2 separate regions of the Homo sapiens genome follow, and region 1 is linked to region 2. The links are contacts of gene promoters, found by promoter capture Hi-C in human tissues and cell types (Jung and others, 2019). All regions are on one chromosome and are shown on one strand. Each heading gives the region's core, a stretch centred on a gene start or on the middle of the fragment in contact. The rest is flanking DNA. Distances are from core to core; before and after follow the strand shown. Region 1 overlaps ATRNL1 (attractin like 1). Region 2 holds the start of GFRA1 (GDNF family receptor alpha 1).

What was found. The method cuts DNA at HindIII sites, captures the fragments that hold promoters and counts their contacts. A contact is called where the count stands out against the background at its distance.
Region 1: a fragment that was not itself captured here is called in contact with the fragment with the promoter of GFRA1 in region 2 in 4 of the 25 tissues and cell types used here (aorta, hippocampus, mesenchymal stem cells and 1 more).

The regions. Positions count from the first base shown.
Region 1 is chr10:115,721,636-115,724,446 of GRCh38, forward strand. The region is part of intron 26 of ATRNL1 (attractin like 1); the gene reads left to right. Among named protein-coding and RNA genes, the nearest start is that of SNORD158, 470 kb to the right of the region's middle. The HindIII fragment of the contact is 5,017 bases long and covers 1-2,811 here.
Region 2 is chr10:116,271,852-116,274,804 of GRCh38, forward strand. GFRA1 (GDNF family receptor alpha 1) reads right to left here and starts at 1,355. Exons shown (of 11, transcript NM_005264.8): 1 at 1,312-1,355; 2 at 139-424. The coding sequence starts at 178. It overlaps LOC107984273 (a long non-coding RNA gene), which reads left to right and starts at 2,158. Exons shown (of 2, transcript XR_001747598.2): 1 at 2,158-2,953. RefSeq lists an enhancer at 1,520-2,357 and a silencer at 1,566-1,860. The HindIII fragment of the contact is 12,805 bases long and covers 1-2,953 here.

The sequences.
Region 1 (2,811 bases), core at 199-2,698, 550 kb before region 2:
AAAGACCAGCCCCCATGATTCAGTTCCTCCCACTCGGTCCCTCCCACAACACGAGAGATTTCTGGGAGATACAATTCAAGTTGAGATTTGGGTGGGGACACAGTCAAACCATATCACTTATATATGCTATTAACATTTTAGAGGATATTTTGAAATCTATATTTTAATCAAAGATCCAGAAACATTTTCCGTTTTTCCTTTGTCTTTCCTCTGTCTGGTAGCAGACCTGATGACAGTGAAAGGTAGGTTTAGGTTTTGGCACATTACTGCCCAAATAGCAACCCCAAATAACTGAACAACCTACCTGGAAAATCTGCTGTGGCTATTTGACAATATTTTGCTTTTGAATAATGAAGAAAAAATAACTAATCTTAAGGTTTTATGGAATCTCGCATTATTAAAGGCCTTCTGGACAGTCACTCAAGTTTACTTTGCAAGTTAATACAAATATTGCAAAAATACCATTTGACAAAGAAATTTCAAAAATCATTGGAAATGAATATTATCAGCCAACTCAGTGAATACTTGTCAGTGTTAGACAGGTAGAATTTTTTTTTTATTTTTAAGTTAACACATTATGTCAAACACAGCATATTGCCGGCAGGTCAAAGATTATAAAAGCCTAGAAAAAAAAATAACAACTGTAACCTGAATAAAGATGTTTTTCCAAACCACTCCCATAATGACTAACATCACTATCTAGGAAAATTAACCTCACACTGGAAGACTGAAAGCAGAAGATTTCCAATATTTTTCTGAACAAGAATTTGAACCTTGTGCCTTGAAGATTTAGTTATATAAAATGGTAGAAAACCATGCTTTCCTAATTTAATGATACTAAAAGTTCTTGCCACTTCTCTTCTTTACACCATCCTAACATCAAAAGAACAAAAAATGATTTTTTACTTGTATTACTGTATGCTAAGTATGTTTGTGTTAATAACAGAAAGCCTCTTATTTCATGAATTGTTGCATAATCTTTTCTTCAGAGGCTTTATTTTAGTTTGTAGCTCAAAACTAATGACAAAATCATTTTGAGTGCTCTTTTTATACCTTTCCAAATTGTTTTGAATATAATTGCTGTTAGAAATATTAATGCATTGTGATGACTTTATGGCAGTTTTTTTCTATGATCTTTGCAGTATTGCCATAAGCTAGATGATGAGGAACAATATGAAATCTGATATTGATTTGCAAGACAGGTCCACAAAACATCCCCATTCTAAAAAAATAAATGTCTACCTACTTTCAAGGAGAAGACATAAATTCTAGAACATCAAAGGACATATAAGAGTTTTAAAAGTTTATGCATAATTAGAGTCAGTTTTATCATAACTTGCCTTTACCCACATTTGGATGAAACAGATTCTTATACTATATTTTATTCACTCATTCATTGTTCATTCATAAAACACTGTTGACTATCAACTAAGTATTGTGGGGAATGAAAAACAAAAATAGGCTTTTGCCTTAAAGAAGATCCCAGAAAAGCATGGAGACATAAAGAGATGGTGCCATATTAATATCACAAATAATTCATAGAAGAGGTGATCATTTCAAAGTTGAGGTGAGGTAGAAGGACATTTGAAGGTGGAGGAGAGAATAGATAGGGAACCTATGCAAAAGAGTCATGTAGTAGGAGGTATGAAGACAATTGCAGGCAGAGTTAGTCACTGCTTTGTTTTTTATGTATGTGTATTTTTAAGGAGTATTATCCTAAAGTCATTCAAAGAGTTGTATGCCTTGTGGTGTTTGGAAAGGTAGCTAGTATCAAGTTTGGGGAATGATACCGTATTTGAAGTAATAGTATTAAGTTGAAGAATTATCTGTATTCATATTTGATAGAATCACTGACTCTACCTGGTTGTCAAATTTAAGCGTAGATATTCTTTTCTTTTGTATTTATTTATTTATTTATTTATTTATTTTTGAGACGGAGTTTCGCTCTTGTTACCCAGGCTGGAGTGCAATGACGCAATCTCAGCTCACTGCAACCTCCACCTCCCGGGTTCAAGTGATTCTCGTGTCTCAGCCTCCTGAGTAGCTGGGATTACAGGCATGTGCCACCATGCCTGGCTAATTTATTTTTATTTTTATTTTTTAGCAGAGACAGGATTTCACCATGTTGGTCAGGCTGGTCTTGAACTCCTGACCTCAGGTGATCCACCTGCCTCGGCCTCCCAAAGTGCTTACAGGCGTGAGCCGCTGAGCCTGGCCTGATTTTCATATCATTTTTAATTCCATGGTTTGTTTTATAAGAGATTTTGAATAGCAAAACAGTTATTATGTACAACAAATAAGATAGTAACATCTCTTTAATTTTTAAATTTTCTTCACAACAATGTTTATGGCAGTATGATTATAATCTATTGTATTATGATCAATTTGTTCTTTTGGCTTTATTGTTCTGCTGAATAATTGGCAATAGCAGATTAGTTATAAAACAGACACATCTGCTATATGGCTTCTTATGGGTATACAAAATGTTAAGCTTCATTTTATATAAAACACAATCCTGGAAAATCTATTAATTTTCAAATTTTCTTAAGAAAATACGATACAGTTTTTCCTAATTTTCAGGATGAGTTTTTATCATTCTTAGTCACAAATGGTGGAAGGCAGTTCCAAATCTAAATTCATTTTACCACAATAATGACAGTTTCCAACTGTCTCATAAATTTGCAAAACATTTGTTAAAAGGGAGACTAGTAGAGCAAAATGTGTCACTGTTGCTGAAGAAAATGGGCCTGTGGTAATTAGTGTGCCGTCTTCTGAGACAAAAATAGTGCTTGAAATTTAACATTATAATTG
Region 2 (2,953 bases), core at 105-2,604:
TCCCCAAAAAGACACTTCTTCCTTCCACATCCACCACACCCGCGCCCCAATTTTGGTGCGGAGGGCGGGGTGGGCTGCTGCAAGCGACCCTAGGAAAGACTCAGAGGGTAAGAAAGCCCGCGGCGGGCCTCGACTTACCCAAGAGCGGCAGCGCGAAGTACAGGGTCGCCAGGAACATGGTGCCGGCGCGGGGCTGGTCCCCGCCCCCCCAAAAAAATCCCGAGCCGCCGCTGGGTCTTGCCGAGGGAGCTCAGCGTGCAGCGATCCCCGGACAGCTGTGCTGCTCTGGCCGCCCAAAGTTCAGCTCCATCCAGTGAAAGAGGAAACTCCGGGTCTGGCAGCAGCCACCGCCGCCGGCGACTCAGCTCCGGGATGGCGAGGGCGGGAGGCGGTTCCGCTTTTAGGGGTTCAGGTCCGACCCAACCTGGAAGGGAGGGCGCGCTTTGAGATGAGAGCGGAGAGCGCCGGAGACTCCCCCCACAGAACCCTCTCCCCTCCCCCGTTCCCGCCTTTGGGGAATTTCCAACACCGGGGTGAGGACCCACCCCCACCCAGGTCGGGGTGCATGTGCGTGTTTTCCAGGGGCCGCTGACACGGGGATGGAGGTGAGGGCTGGAGAGGTCTGAAGAGGGTTCCTAAAGTCCAAGGGGGTGTCTGTTGGGTTCAACCCGAGACGCTGAACGCAAGCAAATAAATAAATAAACGGTACTTTCCGAGCGTCGCGAGCGGAGCCTGCAGCTGCCTGGAGTCCGAGCCCTCGGTGGCGGCGGCGGCAGCTCCCTAGCCAGCCCTGGCGCCGAAAGAGCCCCTTCTCCCGGGAAGTTGGCCTCCCCCTCCTCGCGTCAGCCAGCGAGCTCGCTCAGCCGCCGGCCCTCCCCACTCCGATCGCCAATCCCTAGCCCCAGTCGCCGCCCTCCTTCTCCCCGGGACTCGTCTCCCTCCAGAGGCCGCCAAGCCAGGGGGAACCGATGTCCCGACTGGGGCTGAAACCCGGTTCCTGCGCCCCTACCCCCTACCCGCCGCGCGTCCTCGGCTCCCTCCTGGGCGTCCGCTCCTCTCACACTCTCGCCCGGTGCCCAGGACTCGGGCGCTTCCGCACCCCAGCCCAGGGCGAGCGCGCCGGCCCGCAGTCCCGGCGTGCCCCGGCAGGTGCAGCCCGGCGCCACGAGCGCCCCCCGGGCCCTAAAGTTGGGAGACGCCAGCAAAAAGAAAGGGGTGGCCGGAGGAGGGGGGAAGAAGGAGTGGGGAAGAGGGACGGGAAGCGGCAATGGGTTCCCAAACAGAACGAAAAAAACTCCAAATGCCACCAACCTGGACTCAACCGACCGCGTCCAGCTGCGGCGAGGAGCCAGTTTGTTTATTTACTTATTTATTCTTTCAGGGCAATGGTGTCCCCGCCCCCTCCTTCCCTTTCCGGGCTCACTTTATCTGCGCTAGGAAAAGAAAAAAAAGAAAAAAAAATAGATGCGGTAATCTTCGAGAGCTCGAAGGGCCGAGTTGGGCCAGGACGATTTCCGAGCAGAGCCCTCGGCTCGGATGCTCGTTAGGGATGTTAGTGGTTATTGGAAGCGGCGCGGAGAATGGCGTGTTCCGAGGCCAGATTTCTTCTGGCCAGAGGACCCTCGGCCTGCTCCTGTTCCCGCCGCTCCGCAGCTCCAGCTCCCTCCTAAGCTCGCCCGCCAGGCAGCCGCAGCTGCACACGCCCGCTTGCGGTGGGACCCGCGGCCGGACCCGTACTCGCGCACAGGACACGCAGTGTTCTGCAGCCGGCCGCGGGTGCTGCCAGACACACACACTCTCTCTCTCTCTCTCTCTCTCTGTCTCTCTCTCTCTCTCTCTCTCTCACACACACACACAGACACACACACACACATACACGGGCACAAGGGCTCTTTCTTCTTAGGGCAATCGAGCCAGACCCTTCTTCGGAACACAAAGTTTTCCCCCACGTCACTAGTGGCTGTGATTCAAGACTTGGTGCTTTCAAGACACACTCAGACCCAGGACGCTGGAGCGGCGATCCTGGGATGCGCCCATCCGTTCGTCCACGCCAGCGCGTGCACACTCACACTCACACGCACACATGCACACGCAGTCTCTACCTCTCTCCTGGAGCTCCGACAAGGAGACAAAAGCGGAGCCCCCAGCCCACTGCATTTAAACCCGGCCAGACCTGGCTTTAGAAAATTTATAAGCTGACCTCCATTTTGGCTGTTTCGAGAGTAAATTAACAACAACAAAAAAAGCCTAACATGTACACAGCCCTTCGCCCCAACCCCTGGGACCGCTGGTTCCCAGTCGTGCTGCTCACCCCCCGCCCCCCACGCCTGACACACGCTCCCCTTCCCGCACGCCGGGGGGCGCCCGGGGCACCGAAGTCTACACTGGGTCGGGAGACCGGTCTAGGAGCCAGCCGGCAGTGCTCGGGATCTTTGCTGATGTCCAAGTTCATCTCTCGGGGAGACCGAGTTTGAATCAAATCTGCGTGCGCCCAGCTGTCAAATCTGCAAACCTATCACGCCAGACAATGGGCCGCCGCGGAGGACAGACAAGAATGGCTCATTTTGATCGAGGGGGGTAAATTGAAAAGGGCACGGGCTTTGGTTGAAGTTTGAGGCCCGGGTGTCAGGGCGGGGAGAAGAAGAGGAGGAAGGAGGAGGGTTGGGCCGCTCTCCATTCAACCACACATCAGCCAGGCGCGCCCCTCGGCTGCAGCGGCTGCTTGCAGGCGGGCTGCATATTGTGTGGAGTCGCCAAAGAGGGTCTGCGCCTCGGGGCGCGCCCCAAACCCGGGGGACATCCTACGGATCCGCACTTCTCTTGTGCTGTACGCGTGTTCCTCCAGGGTAAGTATGAGGAGACGGACGCCCTCATCAGACACCCCTCCTCCAACACACACACACCCATAGCCACATCATTCAGGGATACTCTAGTTCAGTGTATCAGTTTACAC